Regions from separate parts of the Homo sapiens genome. Here region 2 is linked to region 1. Evidence: promoter capture Hi-C in 16 types of primary human blood cells and fetal thymus (Javierre and others, 2016). All regions are on one chromosome and are shown on one strand. The core of a region is centred on a gene start or on the middle of the fragment in contact, and the rest is flanking DNA. Distances in the headings are between cores, read along the strand shown. Region 1 holds the start of MZT1 (mitotic spindle organizing protein 1). Region 2 overlaps KLF12 (KLF transcription factor 12).

The links. The method cuts DNA at HindIII sites, captures the fragments that hold promoters and counts their contacts. A CHiCAGO score of 5 or more calls a contact.
Region 2: a fragment that was not itself captured here is called in contact with the fragment with the promoter of MZT1 in region 1 in 2 of 17 cell types (activated CD4 T cells and fetal thymus); the score reaches 6.4 in activated CD4 T cells.

The regions. Positions count from the first base shown.
Region 1 is chr13:72,724,832-72,730,300 of GRCh38, reverse strand. It overlaps MZT1 (mitotic spindle organizing protein 1), which reads left to right and starts at 2,672. Exons shown (of 3, transcript NM_001071775.3): 1 at 2,672-2,777. The coding sequence starts at 2,699. BORA (BORA aurora kinase A activator) reads right to left here and starts at 2,378. Exons shown (of 12, transcript NM_024808.5): 1 at 2,294-2,378; 2 at 1,208-1,375. The coding sequence starts at 1,360. RefSeq lists enhancers at 2,097-2,146, 2,867-2,936 and silencers at 2,357-2,506, 3,030-3,211, 3,167-3,226. The HindIII fragment of the contact is 9,444 bases long and covers 1,858-5,469 here.
Region 2 is chr13:73,708,587-73,714,055 of GRCh38, reverse strand. The region is part of intron 7 of KLF12 (KLF transcription factor 12); the gene reads left to right. Among named protein-coding and RNA genes, the nearest start is that of LINC00393, 49 kb to the right of the region's middle. The HindIII fragment of the contact is 159 bases long and covers 2,504-2,662 here.

The DNA of each region.
Region 1 (5,469 bases), core at 1,423-3,922:
ATCATAAGGTCAGATTGATGAAATGACTCAATATAAACTGCTCGACCTTCCACTAGTACATACTTGCTCATTGTAAAACCTGTATGAAAGTGTAGCAGAAACAGCCACCCTATTTGCAGTTTTTCTAAGTAACTTGGTAGGTTGAAAGATCCAAGGTCAAAAGAACTTATCCAGTGTAGCAAATAACAGTAAAATAAGATAAAGTGGCCCGGGCATGGTGGCTCATGCCTGTAATCCCAGCACTTTGGGAGGCTGAAGTGGGTGCATCACATGAGGTCAGGAGTTCGAGATCAGCCTGGCCAACATGGTGAAATCCCATCTCTACCAAAAAAAAAAAAAAGATAAAGTGATGAAGCCTTTTCTAATATCCTGAAGAACACTTTTCCTTCATATTACTATTGTCCTAAGTACTAATCATATCACCTATCACACTGCCTTGATATTACTCATCTAGTTCTGTTTAACACATTAAAATAGGGGTTAGTTTCTTTTTATAATAGATTGCAAGCTAAGAATTATTTTGACAGTTTCAAATGGTTGGGAAAACAAACAAAAAAATATCTTGTGACATGTGAAAATTATATGAAATTCAAATGTGTCCATAAATAAAGCTGTATTGGAACAGAGTAACATTTATCTCTTTACACATTGCCTATGGCTGCTTTTGTGATACAAGACAGAAGTGAGTAGTTGTGACAGAGACCAAATGACCTGTAAAGCTTAAATATTTACTGTCTGGCCCCTAACAGAAAGTTTGTGACCCATACATCGGAGTATAACCTCCTTAAGGATTTGTGCCTAATGATCCTAACTTGTTCACAGTGTAATCCCTGCTTAGCACTGTATCTGACACATAGCAACACTCAAATAATGTTTGCCAAATAAGTGAGAACAGAATATTAGATGATGCAGCTTCTTCTCTAATGTATTAGTAGCTATATCGTCAACCACAGAATGTAGCTACACCCACAACTGCAGGAAGCTAACGTATGTTCTTGAACTTAAAAAAAAAAAAATCTTCTAGCTAACTTATTAACCTAACCACTAGATTATAATGAACACTACAATTTAAAAAAGTATATTGCAGCTATATATGCTCCATAATGTATTTCCTCCTTACCTTGTAAAGACAGATGTTTACATTTAAAATTATTTGTAATTACTTACATTTAAAATTAGTTGTAAACACTAGTCAGGAATAACTTACTGGTAATTTTGTTGATTTAAAAACAGAAGGACTGGCGAGAGTTTGTTCATGGAGATTAGAATAATCACTAGGACTTTCAAAAGGATTTAAAACAGGGATCCTTCCTGGAGTTTCTGGTGTTATTTGCATCTTTGATTCCTTGACATCTCCCATAGCACAGAGAGAAAACTAAAAAGAAATCAAGAGTATGCATGTTAAAATTACAAAGTCCCATAGATATTAATTTTAACTATTAAAATGTACTCGACAAATGTGTCACAAAAAACAACTCAAAACCTCACACTCTTGGGGCTATGATACAGCTTACAAAAAAAGTATCACATATAAATGTTCTCAACTGATCCTCGAAACAACCTTGAAAGCTATAGCAGTAACTTACTAGTGATATTATTTTGCGAAAGTATTAAGCTCAGAGAAGTGAAGTGGCTTATACGCAGCAATCAAATATGAATGAATTCAGATCTGCCTCTGAGGAAACTAAAGGTTACAACAGGCCCAGATCTCTTCTCAACTAAAGGACTTATAGCTACAATTTTTTTTAAATTCATCATCTCATGTCTCAACACTATGAACATTCTTCGGATACCCTATCCAACTACAGTTGCTATTAAACAATTCTTTGTAGCAAGCAGGTAAGAGATGAGGAAGCTTGTGCCTTTCTTGCACATGAGTCCTAGCCAGAGAAGTATGATTGACAGGGGCTAGGAAATTAACTGCCTGGGGTCCCCTTTCCTCCAAAAATCCTCCTTTCGCCAAGACCTCCCCTCCACCCCTCCCGGGATAGAAAGGGAGACTGCATTACTTGCAATCAAAGGAGGCTACAGAGGCTACACCTTGGCGGGGTGGGGTGGAAAAGAGTCTACTTCTGGAAGGTTGAGATGCAGCCGGCTTCCCTGGATGGAGTGCGAAGGAGGCGTCGCCCCCAACCCTACGTGGCCACTCTTTCTGGTGCCCCTCTCTTCCACACCTACTCCCTGACTGCTCCCATTCACCAGGGGCGAGCGGGCAGGCAAGTCAGGAGCTGGGAAAAGAAACCTCTCCATTCAGACAGGAGGAAAGGCCAGGGACCACAAAGAGCGTACCTACCGGTGCGTACAAAACGAAGCCCCCAGTACCGACTCCAGGGAGCTCCGGGGGCCAGGCCAGCTTCCACGACAGGCATAGACTCTTTAACTCCCCGCTTCCGCGCTGTCTTGGGCCAACCAGGGCACGGGGCTTGTGAGCGACTAGCCAATCGTGTCGTCCCGCCATCCGCGAACCAGCCAATCGCACGGAGGCCGCGTAGGAAATTCGAATGGCAACTCCTCGCTCCACGTTCCGCGCAGAGGAACGTGGCTCCAAATTCAAATCAACGCAGCCTCACGCCGGCGGCGAGCGCGAGGGGCGGAGCCTGCCCGGCGTGGGCCGAGACGCGCTGTGTGATTGCCTCGGAGAGAGGAAGGCGCTCCAGTTCCGGGTCAGGCCCTTCTCCCGCCTCCCTCGGCCTTAGCCATGGCGAGTAGCAGCGGTGCTGGGGCGGCGGCGGCGGCCGCGGCGGCGAATCTGAATGCGGTGCGGGAGACCATGGACGGTGAGTTTCCGTTGCGCTCCCTTTACCTTGCGTGCCTTCCCAGAGCCAAGGCCCCCAGGCGGGAATGAGCCTGGGGAGGACTTCAGGTCCCCTTAGTGCCCCAAACGGCATCTTCCAAGATCTTTGGTAGGGACCTGCCAGGGCCGCAGGGCTGATGGCCCTATCCCTTGAGAGTTGTCTCCGCCGCTGCGTAGTTTGTCGCGCGCGCTAGGCGTTGCGGCCCCTAGTCAGCCGGTTGCGCACCGCGTCCCTCTCGCGCGAATGCCGCGCCCCCTCTATCCCGCATCCCAGGTCCGCCCTACCCGCCCGATCTCCTGCGGTGACAGCGTCACGCCCACCCCACCCAGTACACCCGTTCCCTCCTGCGTGCCGCGTCCCACCCGATTCCCGCCCGGGGCGCTTCGGGGGTCCCCAAGGTTGGGATCCCGGCGGGGACAGGGGCCAGGTGTTTGGTCACCGCTATGCCTCCTGTTCTTCGCACTTAAGTAGGCACCTTTAATATCCGGCGAATGAACAAGTTCCCCTTTGGTCATAATTATCCTAGTTTCCTCTTGAAGCGGGTGACACCAGTGCCCAAGTGCTATGGTGTCGCCTGTTTTCGGCCCCGGAGGCACGTGTGTGTGAAGCCTACACAAGTGTTGCAGAACACGAAATTTGTGTCTTGCGGTTACCCTCTGTCTACCCTCTAATGTCGGTTCTGCCACTTTATGCCCCTGTGGTGAGCTTGGACTAGATACTTAAACATCATTGAGCCTGTTTAGTTTTTTTTTTTTTTTTTTCTGTAAAATAAAACCCTACCTCCAGGAGTTGTGAATATTTAAATAAGACAACCATGTAAAAACATATCAAAGATGATCAATTATTTTTATATTATTTCAGATGGCCTCTCTCTTGTAGTCTTCTTTCTTTGTCTCCTTTTTACTCACATCCACCTGTATTATGAGTGTTTGATCGATGTTGTTATTTGCAGTGGGCCTAGACGTTTTCCAGGGTCTACTCACGTCAGCTTCCGTCTCTGTTAAAAGATAACCCTATGAAATTCTCACTGCTGTATCTCTCTCTCCTTCACCGTAGGCTCTTTTTTTCTTTTTTGAGACACAGTCTTGCTGTAGTTGCCCAGGGTGGAGTGCAATGGCGCAACCTCGGCTCACTGCAACCTCCGCCTCCCGGGTTCAGGCGATTCTCCTGCCTCAGCCTCTGGAGTAGCTGGGATTACAGGTGCCCGCCAGAACACCCGGCTAATTTTTTGTATTTTTAGTAGAGACGGAGTTTCCCCATGTTGGCCAGGTTGGTCTCGAACTCCTGACTTCAGGTGATCCACATGCCTCGGCCTCCCAAAATGCTAGGATTACAGGCGTGAGCCACCATGCCCGGCCTCATTTTCTTATGTAGCACTTGCAGAGGGGCTGCTGGCTTTTTCTGCACTGGTCCTGGTTTTCTTTTCAAAGAATTACACTTTTAGAGCCTTTGCATCTAATTTTTCACTTGTTCAGTATCTACCTTGCTGTTTTTCTGAGAATGTTACTCTTAATATTCAGCTTATTTTTCTATCCTTTTCGATGTATCAACACTTAATAGTTTTATTTTGTAAGTGGATTTATGTATGAATATATATATGTGTGTGTATATAAATATAAATTTACTGTCTTGTATATTTCCTTGGAAAAAGGTAGAGTATAAGACCTCACTTCTAGCCTATTTTCTTAGGTTAGCTGTACTTAGGTTCCTTATGTATATGGCCACAGGATCCCATTTGAACAGAAAACTCACATTTTCTCTGGTGGAATCACTGATGTACAATTGAGAACTGATGGTTTGTGTTGGCTGCATCATCAAGATCTCTTCTGAGAAAACTTGGTGTGAAATGAAGATTATAAAGAGAGTAAGAACACAAAAAAGTGAAGTAAAACAAAAAATGAAGGAGAGGGGATGTGGTGTTACACAGTATTTAAATCAACCCGTGAGATCAAAAATAAAATTTTCAAAACTTTTTGAATACCATTTCTCCCCTCAATGGTAGCATTTGTGAACCTCCCTTTAAGTCATGTGAATTGCAGAACTCTTGGCTACATTTGCATTTTGATCATGAAATGAAAGGATTTTGTTAAAGACATGGAAGGAAGCAGGCTAACTTTCTATTAATAAATTATCTGTGCACCTCACTCTGAAAAGAACTATCTCTGCCAATTTAGAATAAGGTCTGCATGAGATCTCTGCTTTCATCCTTATATCCCTAAAATTCTACACGCTTAAAATAGTCGTGCCTTTTCAACAACACCCCCCTCGCAACCCACTGTGTATGGTTGCCTCTTTTGCTTTTCAACTTTTTGGTATGTTAGGTACTCTCTATTGATTGCTTTTTATACCTTAATTTTTATTTTCCTCTAAAATCGTCCTGTGCATCTGAATTTTAATTTTGATAATTATTCCTTATGAGAGGCTTTATCATAGCACTATTTTTTTTTTTTTTTTGAGACCGAGTCTGGCTGGAGTGCAGTGGCGCGACCTTGGCTCACTGCAACCTCCGCCTCCCAGGTTGAAGCTGGGGATGGGAACCAATTCTCCTGCCTTGGCCTCTGGAGTAACTAGGATTATAGGCGCCCGCCACCACGCCCAGCTAATTTTTGTATTTTTAGTAGAGACAGGGTTTCACCATGTTGGCCAGTCTGGTCTGGAACTCCTGACCTCAGGT
Region 2 (5,469 bases), core at 1,334-3,833, 980 kb before region 1:
TCATTAAGGCAAAGAATGAGTGTGAAGACATGGAAATTGAGTAAGTATATTCCATCCTACCAGTAGATAGTGAACACAGATCATGGCAGGAAGTATGATTAGACCATATTACTGACTTTATAGGAGCATTTCTGTTTTTAAAAAAATGACTTTCTACAATGAATCATCACATATTTTGAGTTATTCCTATTCTCTTTGAGTTTTCTGGAATACATATTAGCCTCATTTTCACACAGACACCTCCACTCCTCTTACCCAAGTGATGAACAGTGAAAGAGAGGAAAATTTTTAATCAGGTACTATTAAAGGATTTAACTCCATGGCAGTATAGGATTGCATCTTACAGATTCTAACATACACCATGAGAGCAGAGGAGACATCATTTATGCATTGTAATTCAAAACAATCTGAACCTTGAATGCTATGCTGAAGCAGAATTGATTAGCTTGGCTATTAATACAATGAAATCACAGACTCTAAGGGTCAGAATGGACTTTATATGTTACAGTCTAGTGTTTCCTAATTCGGGGAACCCCTTGCGTGTCATATTTCGCAGAGAGCAAGTCACTGCTGTGCAGTTTTCTGCATACTTATGTGTATTTTAAAAAATTTGTTATTAACAACCAGATGGTTGTAGCTGTTATTATCTCTTTGGCACTTCTGGCTGACTATTGTTCCCACATTAGTAGTTTAACCAACTCTCCTTAAATGCTCTGAGTGGCCGCATATTCTTCTGCAACACAATCTGAAGACAGAGTTCTCCTCTCTTACAATGTCCAGTAGCCTCTTACGGTGCTGTTTAGGTCTTGGAACCTTCTGGTTGAACAGAATGGCTCTAATGATAATGCTATAATTTTCACTCACTGGCCCCGGTGTTCCTCTCAACACTGTCATGAACCAACTAACATCTTAATTCTCCAAATCAAACACCTCCAGTTTTCTCAGCCGTGTCTTTGTAGATACACTCCAACTGATCACTGTGTCTTTTTAAGTTTTCATACCACAAATTGAGGGAACATATCCTGTGAATGGACTTCTCTTAATACAGGCGTACCTCAAAGATCCTGTGGGTTCAGTTCCCGACATCCCAATAAAGTAAATATCACAAGAAAGGAAGTCACACAATTTTTTTGTTTCCCTATTACATTTAAAAGTTGTGTTTACACTATACTCAAGTGTGCAATAGCATTGTCTAAAAAAAGTACATAATTAAAAAGCACTTCATTGCTCACAAGTACTAACAGTCATCTGAGCCTTTAGAGTCGTAATCTTTTGACTAGTGGAGGGTCTTGCCTCTGTGTTGATGGCTGCTGACTGATCAGGGTGATAGTTGCTAAAGGTTGGAGTGGATGTGGAAATTTCTTAAGACAGCAATAAAGTTTGCCACATCAGTGGACTCTTATTTCATAGAAGATTTCCCTGTAGCCTGTGGTGCTGTTTCATAACATTTTACCCACCATAGAACTTCTTTCTAAATTGCAGTCAATCTTCTGATGCTGCTTTATCAACTAAGTTTATAAAATCTTCTAAATCCTTCATTGTAATTTGGACAGTGTTGACAGCATCTTCACTGGGAATACATTCCATTTCAAGAATCACTTTTTTTGCGCATCCGTAAGAAGCAGTTCCTCATTCATTCAAGTTTTATCATGAGATTGCAGGAATTCAGTCACATCTTGAGTCCACTTCTAATCCTTTTTTTTTTTTTTTTTTTTTTGACATGGAGTTTCGCTCTTGTTACCCAGGCTGGAGTGCAATGGCGCAATCTCGGCTTACCTCAGCCTCCGCCTCCCAGTTTCAAGTGAGTCTCCTGCCTCAGCCTCCCAAGTAGCTGGGATTACAGGCATGTGCCACCATGCCTGGCTAGTTTTGTATTTTTAGTAGAGACAGGGTTTCTTCATGTTGGTCAGGCTGGTCTCGAACTCCCGACCTCAGGTGATCTGCCCACCTCAGCCTCCCAAAGTGCTGGGATTACAGGCGTGAGCCACCGCGCCCGGCTCCACTTCTAGTTGTAATTCTCCTGCTGTTTCCACCACATCTGCAATTCCTTTCTCCATGGAAGCCCTGAATCCCTCAAAGTCATCGATGAGGATTGAATGAACTACTTCCACATTCCTGTTCATGTTGATTTTTGACTTATCATGAATCACAAATGTTCCTAATGGCATCTAGAATGGTGAATCCTCTCCAGGGGTTTTTAAATTTAATTTGCCTGGATTCACAAGAGGAATCACTAGCTATGGAGCTATAGTCTTACGAAATGTATTTCTTAAATGATAAGACTTAAAAGTCAAAATGACTCCTTGATCCGTGGGCTGAAGAATGCATGTTGTGTTAGCAGGCAGAAAAACATCCATCTCCTTGTACATCTCATCAGAGCTCTAGGGTGACCAGGTGCATTGTCAGTGAGCAGTAATATTTCTCAAGGAATCTTTTTTTCTGAGCAGTAGGCCTCAACAGTGGGCTTAAAACATTCAGTAAACCATGCTGTAAAATCCAAGCTTTGTTGTTACATTTATACAGCACAAGCAGATTTAGCATTAGATTTAGCATAATTCTTTAAGGGCCCTAGGATTTTCAGAATAGTATATGAGCCTTGGCTTCAGCTGAAGGTTACTGTCTCCATTAGTCCCTAACAAGAGTCCATCTGTCCTTTGAAGCTTTAAAGCTAGGCATTGACTTCTCCTCTCTAGCTCAGAAAGTCCTACATGACATCTTTCAATAGGAGGGTATATCATCTACATTGAAAATCTGTAGTTTAGTATGGCTGCCTTCATCAGTGATCTTAGCTAGATCTTCTGGATACCTTGCTGCAGCTTCTACATCAGCACTTGCTGCTACAACTTGCACTTATATGTTATGGAGACAGCTTCTGTCCTTAAACCTCATGAACCAACCTCCGCTAGCTTCCAACTTTCCTTCTGCAGCTTTCTTACCTCTCTCAGCCGTGAAGAACTGAAGAGTGGCCCTTGCTCTGGATTAGGCTTTAGCTTTGGGGGATATTGTAACTGGTTTGATCTTCTATCCAGACCACTCAAACTTTCTCCAAATCAGCGATAAGGCTGTTTTGCTTTCTTATCATTTGTGTGTTAACTGGAATAACATTTTAATTTCCTTCTGGAACTTTTCCTTTGCTTTCATAGCTTGGCTAACTGGCTCAAGAGGCCTAGCTTCCAGCCCATCTCAGCTTTCGAAGTGCCTGACTCGCTAAGCATAATCATTTATAGCTTTTGATTTAAAGTGAAAGATGTATGACTTTTCCTTTCACTTGAACACTTAGGGTTACTAACTGGCCTAATTTCAATATTGTTGTGTCTCAAGGAATAGGGGGGCTCAAGAAGAGGGAGTAAGATGGGGTAGCAGCTGGTCAGTGATGCAGTCACAACACACACAACATTTATCCATTAAGTTTGCCGTCTTGGGTACAGTTCATCGAACCCAAAACAATTACAGTAGAAACATCAAAGGTCACTGATCACAGATCACCATACAAAATATAATAATAATTTAAAAGTTTGAAATATTGTGACAATTACCCAAGTATCACACAAAGATGCAAAGTGAGCACATGCTCTTGGGAAAATGGCGCCAGTAAACTTGCCTGACATAGGATTGCCACAAAACTTGAATTTGTAAACACACACACACACACACACACACACACACACACACACACAGACAATATCTTCGAAATGCAATAAAGTGAAGTGCAGGAAAATAAGATATGCCTGTATATGCAAAAATGGTGTTAAGTTTTTTTTAGCAGTTTACTCTATTGGGTTATCTAAATCAAAAACTGCTAACAACTGTATCTTGTCTATCCCTTGTACCTATAATAGATTTCTTTTAAACCTAAACATGCCATGTTGTATGTGTGGTTGGAGCTGTCCCTTAATGATGGCTTTGCTTGGAAGTAGTGTGTTCCCTATCACTGAAAGTGTTGAGGCACAGGCTGGAAATACAGGACAGAATCATTATTCTGAGGTTGCACATACTTTTTCAAGTCTAAGAAATAATTATTCTATATTCATTTTCTTGATTTGGGCCCATTATTCTAATAAATTGAAATGACTTGAAAGTTCTCCCTACCCACTTTGCTTTCATTATTTTTGCTGTCTGTTTCAGCTTCTTCATCTGTGCCAGGTAATTGATGAATGTATTGAATGGGATGCGTTCAAGGAAAAAACCCTAAGACATGATCCGAGAGGCCTCCATTCAGATAGGTCTTAATTCTTTAAACAGTAGCCAGAATCCACCTAGCTCTCCTGTTTCCAGCTCACATTTCTCTGCCTCACAGTTAAATCTAAATGTCCTTGTGAAATACCTGCCCAAAACCAAGATATGTCAAATCCATTCATCCACTTAGCAGAGAGATAGTTACTATGTGCAGTCATGGCTTCCTTGAACTATTATCAGTCAAATAACATTATTTTTAGAAAGAAAAAAAGTGAAATTTGGTTGATTTTTCTGTAACTAGTTCAAAATGAGCCCATCCTGACTTCTGATTTATAATTATGTATAAGATTTTGTAACAGTGTTCAAAATGAAATCAAAACTATTTCTATAGGGAATCAGGTTGGTTTGCATGCTCTTAGTAAACATCTTCTTAGCCTTACCTTTGCTTCAGGCATATTGAGTAAGTTACTTGTGTGTGACCAACAATTAATTTGGAATTTGGGATTATACCAGTTGACTTACGAGAGCCATGCACGCTATGGGAGGGGAGTAAGTATCAGTGAGAAACTTGCTTTGAGAAAGTTAATTTTGCCTTTAATGCTTCATCTTTTTGTACCATATAAGTACCTGATCAGTCATCTTTTTATTTACAACTTAGTAACTTAAACATATTTGTAGGTATTTGAAAGAGGTACATTTTCTAGATATTAGCAAAGAATTTAGAATAGAAAAAGAAATGCTGAGGAGTGCCTTTCTAAATTAAAAATAAGTATATTTTCATGAGTGTACAGTTTAGATAATAACACGAAGATGTGACCAAGTATTTTTGAATGAGTTTATTAATGCCTGCTTGTGCTTAATCATTTAAGGCATGTCAAAAAAAGGAAAAAATATATCTCAGCCATCACATACACATTATTGTCAGCAGGTTAATTATTTATATCCACTGTCTAAATTGTGGGTCTCTGTACATGAAGCAGTTTACAGAGTATTTAAATAAATATGCATATTCACAAATAAATATTAGTACTTAAATGAGTATGCATTGCCATTTAAATTAATATGGTCATTTAAATATGTGCTATACAAAACAATTATGCACTATGGATTCCCTCACGTTAAGAGTTCTATTGCTTATTAACTGATTTGCATTTGAATTTTAGAAGAAAATAATTTTGTGAATTTGGTTTTGCCTTTTAGAATTCTCACTATTTTCTAAAAAATAAATGCTCTAGTAATTTCTACAATGCAGTAAAAGCAAGTAACATTCAGGCATCAGTGATTCCTACAGCC